Linked DNA regions of Homo sapiens: all the other regions are linked to region 1. Evidence: promoter capture Hi-C in 16 types of primary human blood cells and fetal thymus (Javierre and others, 2016). All regions are on one chromosome and are shown on one strand. The core of a region is centred on a gene start or on the middle of the fragment in contact, and the rest is flanking DNA. Distances in the headings are between cores, read along the strand shown.

Region 1 (2,700 bases), core at 150-2,649:
GGCCGCCAGGCCCTGCGGCTCCGCCCCAGCTCCTCCGAGCTGTCCCCGAAGGCCGGGCTAATCCCAGGGGCGGCCCCAGCTCACAGGCCCCTCCCCCTGGTCCCGGGCCTCGCCCCTTACTCCCCCACGCTGGCCCCACGCGGGTTCCTCGGGCCCAGTCGCTTGGGGGCAAGGGGACGCGACAAAGGCCCCCTCTCCCCAGGTCCACTAGCTTCTGAGTCAGAGAAGGCCCGGGACGCCGGGACAAGGGTGTGAAAGAGCCTCTTTGTTCTGGGCAGGCTGGAGGGAAAGGGCAGAAGCCAGGCCTGGAATCCCAGCCGGGAGGTAGAGGGGGCGGAAGGAAGGCCCACCTCACTTAACCCTTTCCAGACCCGGAAGGGAAGGCTTGGAACTGGGCTCTCCTTGGGCGAGTGTGAGTCTGACCTTGGGGACAGAAGAGTCTTCGGGGTAGCTATTCGCCCTCTCAGTCCCCGCTCAACCACACACCTTCAGCCCCGCCCTAGCCCTTAGGGCGTTACAGGTGGGGATCCAACAGGTTAACGCGTGGACGGCGGACGGGGGAAACGCTCAGCCTAGGGGCTGGACTCCTCTTAGGCCCCAGAAAAGGAGGCGGAAATTTTGCGTGTGGGAAGTAACCCCAAGGAGTTAAAAGCCCTGCAGGGGCATAGAGGAGCCTTTGAATTGGGCTTCGGGGAAGCGAGCGGCCCCGGCCTAAAGTCGGGGTTGATGACAGAGGCTGGCCCAGATGGCTGCGACAGGTTGTGGGATGGGGCTGGCGACTGGGGAACAAGCGGGAGCCCAGGCCAAGAGTCCGAGCGCTTGGGGCCCGCCTAGCTGCCCACCGCCCTTGGCCCGGGGATGCCCAAGACATTTTGGGGTTCAGGCACATTTTAGGAGTCGAGCTGGGGCCCTACAAATTGAGACCAACCCGGGCTTTTTCCAGGCTCAGGCAGATAATCCTAACCAGGCCGCGGAATGGGCAGCATGGATCCGATGAAAATGCAGACCGTCCACACCTTACTTTTTAAGTCAACAACTCCGTCGGGTTTGTACCCAGACCGTGCGTCTCCGCCCCTCGGCGTGCACGCGGGCGAGGGAAGGAGGCCGAGGTGGCTGGGGCTGCCCCCGGGAGCCGCGGAAGGGGAAGGCAGGGACGCGAGTCTCTCACCTCGGGCAGGTCGCTGAAGAGGCTGAGTCGGAAGCGGCCGCGTTTGAACTCCATCTCCAGGGCGGAGCCCCTGGCCACGGTGACCCGGCTCCGGTGGTTTCGGGAGAACATGCTGGCGGCCCTGCGACTTTGCCTGCTCAGTGCGCTCCCCGCGCCGCCCGGCTTAGCCTCCTCTCCTCGGCTTCTGTCTCTCGACGCTCGTCCGCCAGTCCGGCCGGGAATCTCCCGCTGCGGGGCTCCAAACCCCGCCCCCGGAGACGACACCTGGGCCGGGCAGGGCGCGGCAACCTCCTCTTCCACCCCCGCCAAAGGCCCAGCCCGTCCGGCCAGTCCCTGGGCGCCAAGCCGACCTGGCCCGACGGCCCCGGAGCCCCCAGGGGCGCACTGCACCTCGCGAGCACTGTGGGAGCGCGTTCTCCCTGCCCGCGCGGGTCGCGAGCGCCTACCTGGACTTGGGACGGACCGAGAAGCCCTGCCCCGCCAGCCGCCCCAACCTGGCAAGCCTGGCTTCCCGGGCGCTGAAAACCCCGTGGCTCAGGGATCGCCGCGTAGCACGCTCTGGCTCTACTCGGGCCCTGGGACCTTGCCCAGTTTCAATCCCGGCAGCCTCCGAAGAGACCATTTCAACATCCCACAGTCCCAAATGTTCCTTCTTCGTCCCCCTCCCCACCTAGGCTCCTCTGCGAGGCTATCCGCCTAAGCCTAGTGGCCACAACTGATGGGGCGGTGCTTAAACACGTCGTGAAACCCCAGCTCTGTCACTAACTAACCGTGCAATCATTAACTTGGTCCAGTCACTGGCCTTTCTGAGCTTCAGTTTTCTCATTTGTTCAGTGGGAATACTGTAATTATCTCCACTCCTCAAGTTGCTATGAGGATTACCTATAAGAATGAGGGTAAAATGCCCAGCATAGTGCCTGGCACAAGGCAAGTGCCCCATATTTGCAGTCATAAAGAGCAGCTGCGCGCGGTGGCTCACGCCTGTAATCGCAGCACTTTGGGAGGCCTAGGAGGGTGGATCACCTGAGGTTGGGAGTTCGAGACCAGCCTGACCAACATGGAGAAACCCCATCTCTACTAAAAATACAAAATTTAGCCGGCCATGGTGGCACATGCCGGTAATCCCAACTACTTGAGAGGCTGAGGCAGGAGAATCGCTTAAACCCGGGAAGCAGAGGTTGTGGTGAGCTGAGACCCCACCATTGCACTCCACCCTTGGAAACAAGAGCGAAACTACGTCTAAAAAAAAGATGGCTGGGTGCAGTGGCTCAAGCCTGTAATCCTAGCACTTTGGGAGGCCAAGGGGGACTGATCGCTCTTGAGCTCAGGAGTTGGAGACCAGCCTGGGCAACATGAAACCCTGTCTCAACAAAACACACACACACACGCACACACACACACAAATTGGCCTGGCATGGTGGTGCACACCTGTAGTCCCAGCTACTCGGGAGGCTAAGGTGGGAGGATTGCTTGAGCCCGAAAGTTCAAGTCCAGCCTGGGCAACATAGTGGGACCCCATCTCTTAAAAAGCA
Region 2 (2,700 bases), core at 27-2,526, 150 kb after region 1:
AGCAGCCGGGCACGGTGGCTCACGCCTGTAATCCCAGCACTTTGGGAGGCTGAGGCGGGCAGATCACCTAAAGTCGGGAGTTTGAGACCAGCCTGACCAACATGGAGAAACCCGGTCTCCACTAAAAATACAAAAAATTAGCCAGGTGTGGTGGTGCATGCCTGTAATCCCAGCTACTTGGGAGGCTGAGGCAGGAGAATCGCTTGAACCTGGGAGGTGGAGGTTGCAGTGAACTGAGATCGCGCCATTGCACACTAGCCTGGGCAACAAGAGCGAAACTCCATTTCAAAAAAAAAAAAAAAATTTGTTAGCTATGTGATTTTGGGCGAAGTGGAATAGTACAACATATTTCTTAGTAAAGCACTACAAAGCGAGATGATTATCTATAAATGGCATCCAGTAGGTCCAACAAATATAATTTTCTTCCTTTTCTCTCATCCACAAAATGAACTCTTTTAGGATAATAATATATTTTCCTTTTTTTTTTTTCTTTTTTCTTTTGAGACGGAGTCTCGCTCTGTCCCCCAGGCTGGAGTGCAGTGGCGCGATCTCGGCTCACTGCAAGCTCCACCTCCCGGGTTCACGCCATTCTCCTGCCTCAGCCTCCCGAGTAGCTGGGACTACAGGCGCCTGCTGCCATGCTTTGCTAATTTTTTGTATTTTTAGTAGAGATGGGGCTTCACCGTGTTAGCCAGGATGGTCTCGATCTCCTGACCTCGTGATCCACCTGCCTTGGCCTCCCAGAGTGCTGGGATTACAGGTGTGAGCTACCACGCCTGGCCATATGTTTTCCTTTTTTAAAGCTTTTTTTCCCTTGGTCACTGCTTTCTACCCCCGACTACCATACATTGAACACCAACAACTAGTATGTATTGTGTTCTTCACAAATACGACTAAATGTGCTAAATCTGGGGATCGGGGAGGAGACTTCTCAGACGTTGAAAAACAGCTCCCTCACTGGCTGGGGAGCAGGGTACCCATGCACTAGATGAACGGGTCACACCAATGGCATGAAATGGAAAGGTTACAGGAGTGAAACGGTGGCCCTTAGTGTTTGGATAGTTAAAGCAGTGAGGAAGGCCTGGTTCACTGCAGCCCAAGCTGCAGCCAGCATTCACATTGTTTTTGAACTTACCCTGCCCTCCTGCGGCCACAATGGGAAAAAACTAAGAAAGCCAAATGACTGAAGATTAGGTAATACCTGAAGTAGACCCTCTCAGAAGAAACCTTAAAATAGGGTTATAAAATTAAAGTGTGTTTAAAATAGGAGACTTTAACATACATACGTGCATATACAATGTCTGTATTTCTCTCTTCACATAAAATATAGAGGCCCAGGAAAGTAGAGGCCCAGGAAAAGGTGCTCTTGCCCAGTCCTCCACATCTTCCCCCGTCTCACAGGGCCCTAACCTCTAGGCCTGACCTGTTCCTTTCCGAATGACATTCATGAGGCCTGTACTTGGGTGTCATGGATGGGCTTCAGACATTCTGAGAACCCCTTGAAATTATATACAATTCATCTGTACATGCATAGATGTATTTTGGTGGGGTGGGGGAAGGGGGAAAGCCCCTAGCTTTTATCAGATTCTCAAAAGAGCTCTATGACCCCAAAAAGGTCAAGAACCACTACAGAGACTATAGAGTCACAGTATCTTAGCCTGCCTGGGTTGGTTTACAATTAGCTGTCTACTCTCTGAATACAGGATAGCTATAGGATGTTAACAACCAGGGTAAGTAATCACAGCAGATAAAGCTTAGTCAGGAACAGCAGTGCAGCATCATCCAACCATTGTCTTTAAATCAACACAACATGAGAATAATCTAACAGCTTACAACGGTGAGGCAGTCAAGCTTGTCTTTCTAAGCTCATTTGCCTCATTTGTGGAAGTGATGCTTGGACCCTAGGAAAAAGGAGAAGCCCCTTGAAAAGAGTTGGCAGGGGTGGTGGTAGTGGTTATCAACATGTGAACTCAGGGCAGAGAGGTGACTGCAGGAATGGACCTAGTGGTGACTATCTTCCTGGAGCCCCAGTCTGTAAGAGGGTCAAAACATCACCATAACTGTAATGAGATAGAGAAAATTTATATCCCAGAACTCTTCTCAGAGAGAGAGAACTGTTGTCATTCATTCATTTGCTTAGTCATTCATTTATTTAGTCATTCAAGCACTTATTAGTTTACTGTCTTTTATGAGCTAGGCACTTATTGGTGTCATCAAGAAAAGAGACAAATTGCCTACTTTCGTGGCTTACATTCTAGTGAGAGAACAGATAATAAGCAAGCAAATAAAACAGAATACAATTTCAGATGATAGATACTATGAAGAAAAATAAAGGGGCGTGTGTGTGTGCACGCGCGCGCGTGCATGCATGTGAAGTTTTAGCTTGGCTGGCCAGGGAAGTATTCTTTAAGAAGCTGACAGTTGGGCAGAAACTTGAATGACGTGAAGTGAGTCATAAAAACATTTGTGCGAAGATTGTTTCTTATAGAGAGATGAGCAAGTTCAAAGGTCTTGAGATGGGAATGAGCTTTTTGTGTTGGGGGATTAGCCAGAAGACTAAAGCAGAATAAGGAAGGAAGTGAGGACTAGCTAATAAGCTGCTGGGGTGAAGGACAAGACCCCCAAAGTGGCACACTCATGTATCAACAGGGGTCACTACACTTGCTTTGAAGAAGGGTGGGTTCCATTATTGCAATTTGG
Region 3 (2,700 bases), core at 34-2,533, 190 kb before region 1:
CCACTATCCACTTATTTCCTTCAACTCAATCGGGGTATAGATTTGGAAACCCCACAGGAGTCCCAGGAGACCACCAGGGCCCGCATTGAGACCCCTCTTTTACAGCCAGGGAAACTGAGGCTTGGCATGACCTTGGGTGGTCTCTGGACCTCAGTTTGCTCTCTGTGAGTCCAGCCTTGGTGCTTGGAGATGTGTGCATAGACCTCCTGCTCCTGCTCTGCAGCACCCTGGGCACTCTGGGCACATCCCACTGAAAGCTCTTAGGGGCATGATCATGACTATGGAGGAGGCTCAGATGCTATGGGAAGCCCTAATTTACAGATGACAGGTGTTTTGGCCAGAAAGTAACTCCACAGGAGTGGCACTGGGTGTTACCAGGTTGACCCCATCTGTACAGGGATCCTTTTTACAATATCCTTGGCAGATGGACATCCAGAGAGTGTCCAAGTAACTTGCTACCAACCAAGGGGGCCGAGAACTCCCATGGTGGTTAACGCCCACCATTGTAGGTTCTTTCCTAAATTCAGCCAGCATCTGGCTTCCTGGAGCTTCTGCTCCCTGTTCCTCATTCAGCTCTACATCCTGTGGTTTCAGAGGGTGAACACAGCTCCTTTGTGACATGACAGTCCTTCTCTCATAACTCTCATATTCATAAGAGGCTGAATAAGCCCCGGTTCTCCAACTGTTCTCAGATGGCATGGATGACAGAGCCTCCACTCTGGACATGTTTCCATCTGTGTGGATGTCCATCCCTCAGGTGTGGTCTCACCTTACACGGTATGTGGCCACACGGGCAGCTCTGTCTTGGGGAGAGCTCATCGTATCATGACTTGATGGAGCTGGGCGGGACTTCAGGCACCATCAGTTCTATCTCTGGCCTGCAGCAGGAACCCCTGAGTGGCACTCCTGATAGGTGTGGCCTCCACATTACCCCACACTGAGGCAAAGCATGCCTTACTCCTTCCTAGGATATCCCTGTGCCCTCCTGATGACAACCCTGTGACTCTTATTAGAGCTACTGTCCCCTTGGTTTCCTTCCAAACACTGGGTTCAAGACCCTGTATTTGCTCTCTTGGAACTGTAAGCCCTTGGCTGAATGGCCCCTCCCCAGCAGTAGAAGTAGAGAGCTGTGGTGAAGGATCAGGGGGCCGGTGGGGTAGGTGAGGGCCCACGGCATGTCTGGGGTTACCGGTCACCTGTGTCAGGGGCGACACACTCGCACTTGTAGGTAGTGATGAAGTTTGGCTTGAAGTCCATATTGATAGGGTAGTACTTGAAGGCACCGATCATCTTCTTGATGGCATCGTAGATGAAGATGAAGCTGATAAGGGTGGAGAAGCCCTCCTCGGTGAAGCGGGTGATATATTTGATGATAAAGCTGGCATCTGTGGCCACTAGGATAAGGCACTGGACAGCTGAGTGTAGGCCAATCCAGAGGCGGAACTCCATGTAGTCCAGGCCATTGCCTCTGGAAGGCAGAGGGGAGGTGAGGGGCCTCCAGCCCAGGGCTCCTGGCTGTGCTTGACTCCTCAGACTCATCCTTAAGTGGCTTATCTGTCCTCCTGTGGCACTGATGCCCTCCCAGGGACTGTGAAAGACTGGGGACAGGGACAATTCTTGGGCAGAGTTGTCTGATCTTTGAGATTTCATGGGGGTCCAGTGTTCATCTTTATAAGAACTTTTTTTTTTTTTTGAGAAAGAGTCTCTCTCTGTCACCCAGTCTGGACTGCAATGGCGTGATCTTGGCTCACTGCAACCTCTGCCTCCCTGGTTCAAGTGATTCTCCTGCCTCAGCCTCCTAAGTAGCTGGGATTACAGGCACCCGCCGCCACGCCTGGCTGATTTTTGTATTTTTAGTAGAGACGGGGTTTTACCATGTTGGCCAGGCTGGTCTCAAATTCCTGACCTCAGGTGATCCGCCCGCCCCAGCCTCCCAAAGTGCTGGGATTGCAGGTGTGAGCCACCACGCCCGGCCAAAAAAAAATTTTTTTTAAAGATCTTATGGAGGAGGCAGGAAGGTGCCAAGACATCTCAGTGCTCACAGTTGGTAACAGACACCAGAGTGAGTGAAAAACAGGGAATTTTGGAAGAACAGGGTTGGAGCAGCCCTTGGAAATGGTCTGGTCCAAACCCTCATGTTGTAGAGGAGGCAACTGAGCCTGGAGTAGTGATGGGAGCTGCCTGGGTCTGGGTGTAACCTTCTGACCTTCAGCCCAAGACTTCATACACTATACTGCCTATCAAGTCACCATTGCTCACAAACTGAGTGGTGTGAATTTTCTCCTCTTGTCGTGGCTGGTCCCTATGGGCTGTGCCAATATGCACTAAGATGTCTTAAAGGCAGGTAGCTGGCAGGAGTCAGGAGGGGCCACCTGGTAGCCCTTCCCATAGTTAAAGATGGCTTTGGCACCACCGCACCACCACCTACCCTTGGGACCTATTCCCCTGCCCTAGCCCCAGCATACTGCCCCAAATGCGAGAGCAGGCACTGGGGGCCACCAAGGGACACCTACTTGCTGAAGTCGAAGAGGAGCTTCTCAAAGATGAGGATGGGCCCCGTGCTGCTGAGAATGATGAGAGGCTGTCCCGAGAAGAGGCAGAACAAGGAGCCAGCCATGGCAGTGCCCAGGAAGCTCTCCATCACTCCCTGGGGGCACAAGGAATGTGTGGTTCAGCATAGGAAGGAGAAGCGGTCTCTCC
Region 4 (2,700 bases), core at 16-2,515, 170 kb after region 1:
TCTTTAGGGACCAGGTTTCAGATTAATTGGCAGTCTAAATTTATTATAAATAATTCCTCAGAAGTTCCTTCCCTTCCTGAAAATTTATTTGACCAACATCTACTGAATTCCTATTGTGTTCTAGCCACTGCACCAAAATCTTCCCTACACTAGCAGAAGGAAAATTTGCAGCCATAAAGGTTTTGATTACTTAGAGTTACCAGAAACATGAAAGGAAGTGTTTTAACTCATTCACTCACACAAAGGGAAATCCAGTTGTGTGACTGCTTAGTTTTACTTTGGGGTGACCTGCAAACTGGAGGCCAGACAGTGTTCACCTTAGACATCATCTTCATTTCTTAGTCAGTCTAGGCACCAAAAGCTTCTCTACTTAAAAATGAGGTTTTCCCAGAAGTGAGAATTTTGATGTGGTTGATCACTTCAGAATTCATACGTCCTATCTAATACGCTCTTTAGGATAACTTCAGTAAAGAAGAGATATTTGGGTTAGTCTGCAGTCAGCTTAAGGAGCCAACATGTTAAACCGAGACAAGCGACCTTTTGGTTCTCCTCATCTACCTTTATAAAAACTTGCTCTTAGGAGTCAACTAATTTAATCTGATACTAGGTCAATGTTACTTCTCCTAAGGATATATGCATTTTGATAAATGTGGACTGAAGATTTGTGACATCATTTGAAGGGATTCCATGCATCAATAGCAGGTGGGGGGTGGGGAAGAATTATATTTTGGGATGGGGACACCTTCCTGACCATAGAGCAGAACTGAGTGATATCTGTAATGCACATAAAATCCATGAGCATGAGCTGTAAACCTGCCAGAATACAAAGACTGCTTAAGTCAACACCTTCCTGGGCTTAGCTCCACAGTTGATATATTCTTCTCTCCCCAAGTCTTTGGGGTGAAAACACAAGGAATTGCATATAATTCTTACACAAAGAAAACTTGTAATCTAGAAAGGAAAATAAGAAAACTATCCGAGAAAGAAATTAGAAGAAATCACACCACAGGTGTAGCCTAGTAGGCTTTAAGCATTTCTTCTCATGTACCCACTAAAAGAATCTGAGAAACAATGTACCCCCTTATGCATTTTTAAGTGAACATCTATATTTTAAAATTCCAACTTTATAAGTGGTTGCTAACGATGTAACTTCCTGCATATTTTAAATATCAACATTTAAAAATAAAACTATAATATAACTCTTCAAAACAGTCCAATTGAATCTAAATGCCATGGTGATTTGATACTCACCATTATTCAGTGTTAAAAGTACATGAACAAGCTCTTTTTTTCCCAAGAGATAGAAATTTAGATTGTTCCTTTTTCTCCTTGAACTCATATTTCCATTTCACTTTCCCTGAGAGTTTTATCATAATGTAAAAGAATTTTTATGCTTGGCAACCTTTTATTGATCATCCCATCATACTTCTCTGCATCTAAAACAGCTATATTTTGCAAGAGTTCTAAGTTTCCTATGAGCATAGGCTCTAAGGGGCACTCTAGATTGAGTTATTATTAGAATTATCATTCATATACAATTTATTAAAACAACATGTATATACAAATTTTGAGAAATAATTATTGGCATTAAGCATAGCTTTAATTGGAAATGTTTCTCTTAATAATTGGAAATATTCCTCTTAATGGCATGGACAAGCTGGGCTCTTCTTTCAATTAGCTCAGGTTTGTGTGAATAAATAAAATAATTACTGATCGAATGACACAACATTCAGTATCAATTTTTATTCCTATTTTATTTATTTGGTGGCCAACATGGGTTGAGTTTATTGCATCATTATAAACAGAGAAAAATCTTGTTTTCTCTTGACCAGATACCCAAAAGGCTATAAAAGAAATGTAACTTAACTCCAATTTGAGAATATGTACTAAAAATTTTAAGCCTCACCTTGGTATTTTAAAAGACTAAATGTGATACCCTACAAGGCATTTTGATGTCACAAATTCATTCTATTACATTTTATATACAAAAATGCTACACCATTGTTCTAATTATGTGTCTGCAGTTGTACTACAACTATAGGACAGACACAGAATGATTCAAAATAGCTGGAATCTAAGCCTTACTTCTCAGTGATCAGGGCAGTCCAGCCTGGTGATGTCATATAGGGTGTCATTAGATGACACCCAGAACCAGCCACAACTTCGGACTAAGCTTGTTTGTGTCTACAATTGTGATGACATATTACTATGGATTTAACAATAAAAATTCCAAGCTAACGCAGGAACAGAAAACCAAATACTGCATGTTCTGACTTATAAGTGCGAGCTAAATGATGAGAACACATGGACACATAAAAAGGGACAACACACACTGGGGCCTGTCAGAGGGTGGAGTGTGGGAGGAGGGAGAGGATCAGAAAAAATAACTAATGGGTAGTAGGCTTAATACCTGGATGATGAAATAATCTGTACAACAAACCCCCATGACACAAGTTTACTTATGTACCTGCACATGCACCCTTGAACTTAAAATAAAAGTTAAAAAAATTCATACCATTTGTTTTAAGAGTGTCTGGGAAAAAATAAGCAATTATTCCATTTTGTGCCCTTCTCATGTTTTAAAATAAGCAATGTTCTATATTTCTATTATCGAAGGTTCAGAAGTAAAAACATTATAATAAATATACAAATCCTTGAAAACTCTTAGCATTTCTAGTGTTTAATACTCCCACTTCTTTG
Region 5 (2,700 bases), core at 41-2,540, 220 kb before region 1:
AGAGTCTCGCTCTACTGCCCAGGCTGGAGTGCAGTGGTGCGATCTCGGCTCACTGTAACCTCTGCCTCCTGGGTTCAAGTGATTCTCCTGCCTCAGCCTCCCAAGTAGCTGGGATTACAGGCGTGCACCCCCATACCTGGCTAATTTTTTGTATTTTTAGTAGAGATGGGGTTTCACCATGCTGGCCAGGCTGGTCTTGAACTCCTGACCTTGTGATCCCCCCTGCCTCGGCCTCCCAAAGTGCTGGGATTACAGATGTGAGCCACCGCGCGTGGCCAACAACTTGGCTTTCTTGCCAAGATGGAAAATGCATGCATGAACATTGCAAACCACCATTCTGTTCACCTCTAAACAGTTAGGGGATGCTGCAAATACCCTGGGGTCCACTGAAGGGGAATGGGCACAGTTAGCCTGCTGTCCTATACACACCATCAGACAGACCGGAACTCTTCCAGGAATGTTACTCATCAAAACAGTTTTATCTGTCACAGCAACCAGTCACTTGGGAATGAACCTCACACAACAACTGTGTTGCTATAAGACAAGTAAAATGAATTTGTATAAATTGAATCCTGTTTTTCCATTGATATATCATAATTCAGAGATTCTTTTTCCCAACCCTGTAATAGTTCTTGGCATGTGGTAGCCACTCAGATATTTATTGAAAGTATCAACAAAAGAAGTATTTGTCTTTAAAAGGCACTTAGTCTCTGTTTCTTTGTTTTCAGAACCCACCTTTACAAATCATCTACAAACACATGCATTATGGGACTCTTCCTGGAAGAGCACAGTAATTAAGGACCAGGGGAGTTCTGACTGATCAGAAGATGGTTTAATCACCACCAGCCAGTCAGAAGGGATTTGCCTTGAACAGGTTTCATCTGCACAAGGCAAAATCACGAGAACAGGACAGGGTGGATGCAGGGACGTGAGTTTGGGTCAAATTGGGAGATTGGGAACCAAGCACAGCATTAGGAGATGGCACAGGCAGCTTAGCATATCAGAAACCAGCAAAGTCAGGAATTATTTTCTTAATTCCTTCTTAGAAATGTAGCTACATGTCCATTTTGGGTAAGTCACTTCCTTTTGTGGGGACAGTTTCATCATAAGTAATGAACACATGAATTAAGAATCTTTCTGCCTCATGTTTTGTGATTCACTATAATTTCTGGACTGGCCCCTTGTCTGTTGACTCCCTGAGTGTTTTGGGGATGAAATGGGAAGGGACCATGGGAGAAGAGGGGCAGATGGGGCAACCATGTTGTCCCAGACATCTGGGAAATGTAGCCAGTCTCCTTTTGGCGAGGATACCTGCCTCTTTCCCCATCTTTGTCCTCAATACCCTAGGCAAAGGCGCAAGCAAAACTTGTTCCCAGCCCCTCCTGCCTGTCTGGAGTCCAGTCTACTTATAAGGCCCCATTAGACACCTCTCCCCAAGTCTGCTCCACTCTTTGGAGGTCAGTCTTCATAACCTCCTTCCATGCTGGAGCTGCCTCCTGGCCCTTCCCACAGGAACCCGCTTGCTGTGATCACGGCCGTAAAGCCCACAGTGATGGAAAGAGTGGGCATGGCCAGTCACCTTTTCCCTGGACAGGGAGTCTCATTCACTCTGGCCCACCCTGAGGATATTCACATAAACAGAAGAGCCCTCAACACCCCAGACCAAGACAAGCAGATGCCCCAGCCCATCCTGGACTGGGCCGAGGCACTGCTGCAGGCCACCCAAGAAGCCGCCCTCTCCCTGTCCCTGGCAAAAGTGGAGAGAAGGTCTCTCAATTTCTCCTCTGTGCCCCGGCCTCACATCTTCCCCACCTCCTCATCACAGTCCTCGTGGGCCCCTTTTTTTCTCTTCCTCTTCTTGTCTGTCTCCTTTTTTTCCTTCTCTGGGAGGATGTTGTCAATCCAGGCCAGGTCGTGCTGGGAAAAGATGAAATCCAGAAGCCTTCGAACGATGATGAGGCCCAGGATCTGTGGTGGAGAGAGACTAAAGTTTTGTGAGAATTTGGAGAAAACTGTGGTCTCAATGCCCAAACTCAGGCATAGATTTTTTTCTCCCTCAGTCGGCTGAGTTCAGGGACTTTTTGTGGTGTCTTTGGAGCCGTCTCGAAGCTCCCATAAGCCATTATTCACTTTCCCTCCACCGTAGTTCCTCTTGTCTGGCCCCTCAGGTGAGTGACCATGCCTACCAGTGACCAAGAGGGACGGAGCCTGTGACAGCCGAAGTGGGGAGCCTCAGAAAGGCCATGGGCTGGAGAACTACAGTTATTCTTTAAATTAGTGGTTCTCAGCCAGGCGTGGTGGCTCACACCTGTAATCCCAGCACTTTGGGAGGCCGAGGTGGGCAGATCGCCTGAGGTCAGGAGTTTAAGACCAGCCTGGCCAACATGGTGAAACCCTGTCCCTACTAAAAGTACAAAAGTTAGCCAGGCATGGTGGTGGGTGCCTGTAGTCCCAGCTGCTCAGGAGACTGAGGCAGAAGAATCGCTAGAAACCGGGAGGCGGAGGTTGCAGTGAGCCAAGATTGTGCCACTGCATTCCATCCTGGGCGACAGAGCAAGACTCCATCTCAAACAAATAAAATAAATACATAAATTAGTGGCTCTCAAACTTGAGCATGCACCAGGACCTGGAGGGCTTGTTAATTAATACACAAATCACTGGATTCCCCCAGTTTCTGATTTAGCAGGTCAGGTAATGCCT

What was found. The method cuts DNA at HindIII sites, captures the fragments that hold promoters and counts their contacts. A CHiCAGO score of 5 or more calls a contact.
Region 2: a contact is called between a fragment that was not itself captured here and the fragment with the promoter of RTKN in region 1, in 8 of 17 cell types (total B cells, naive B cells, naive CD4 T cells and 5 more). The highest score is 7.6, in total B cells.
Region 3: a contact is called between a fragment that was not itself captured here and the fragment with the promoter of RTKN in region 1, in 7 of 17 cell types (naive CD4 T cells, megakaryocytes, activated CD4 T cells and 4 more). The highest score is 6.7, in naive CD4 T cells.
Region 4: a contact is called between a fragment that was not itself captured here and the fragment with the promoter of RTKN in region 1, in 1 of 17 cell types (neutrophils). The highest score is 5.9, in neutrophils.
Region 5: a contact is called between a fragment that was not itself captured here and the fragment with the promoter of RTKN in region 1, in 1 of 17 cell types (naive CD4 T cells). The highest score is 5.7, in naive CD4 T cells.

The regions. Positions count from the first base shown.
Region 1 is chr2:74,440,538-74,443,237 of GRCh38, forward strand. RTKN (rhotekin) reads right to left here and starts at 1,400. Exons shown (of 12, transcript NM_001015055.2): 1 at 1,169-1,400. The coding sequence starts at 1,279. RefSeq lists silencers at 16-325, 1,041-1,100, 1,411-1,490. The HindIII fragment of the contact is 8,784 bases long and covers 1-2,700 here.
Region 2 is chr2:74,586,716-74,589,415 of GRCh38, forward strand. The region is part of intron 4 of M1AP (meiosis 1 associated protein); the gene reads right to left. Among named protein-coding and RNA genes, the nearest start is that of DOK1, 33 kb to the left of the region's middle. The HindIII fragment of the contact is 950 bases long and covers 802-1,751 here.
Region 3 is chr2:74,245,840-74,248,539 of GRCh38, forward strand. It overlaps SLC4A5 (solute carrier family 4 member 5), which reads right to left. Exons shown (of 31, transcript NM_133478.3): 18 at 2,514-2,647; 19 at 1,197-1,468. Among named protein-coding and RNA genes, the nearest start is that of MTHFD2, 49 kb to the left of the region's middle. The HindIII fragment of the contact is 6,305 bases long and covers 1-2,700 here.
Region 4 is chr2:74,615,180-74,617,879 of GRCh38, forward strand. The region is part of intron 2 of M1AP (meiosis 1 associated protein); the gene reads right to left. Among named protein-coding and RNA genes, the nearest start is that of M1AP, 32 kb to the right of the region's middle. The HindIII fragment of the contact is 1,812 bases long and covers 360-2,171 here.
Region 5 is chr2:74,223,028-74,225,727 of GRCh38, forward strand. It overlaps SLC4A5 (solute carrier family 4 member 5), which reads right to left. Exons shown (of 31, transcript NM_133478.3): 28 at 1,813-1,968. Among named protein-coding and RNA genes, the nearest start is that of MTHFD2, 26 kb to the left of the region's middle. The HindIII fragment of the contact is 4,313 bases long and covers 1-2,700 here.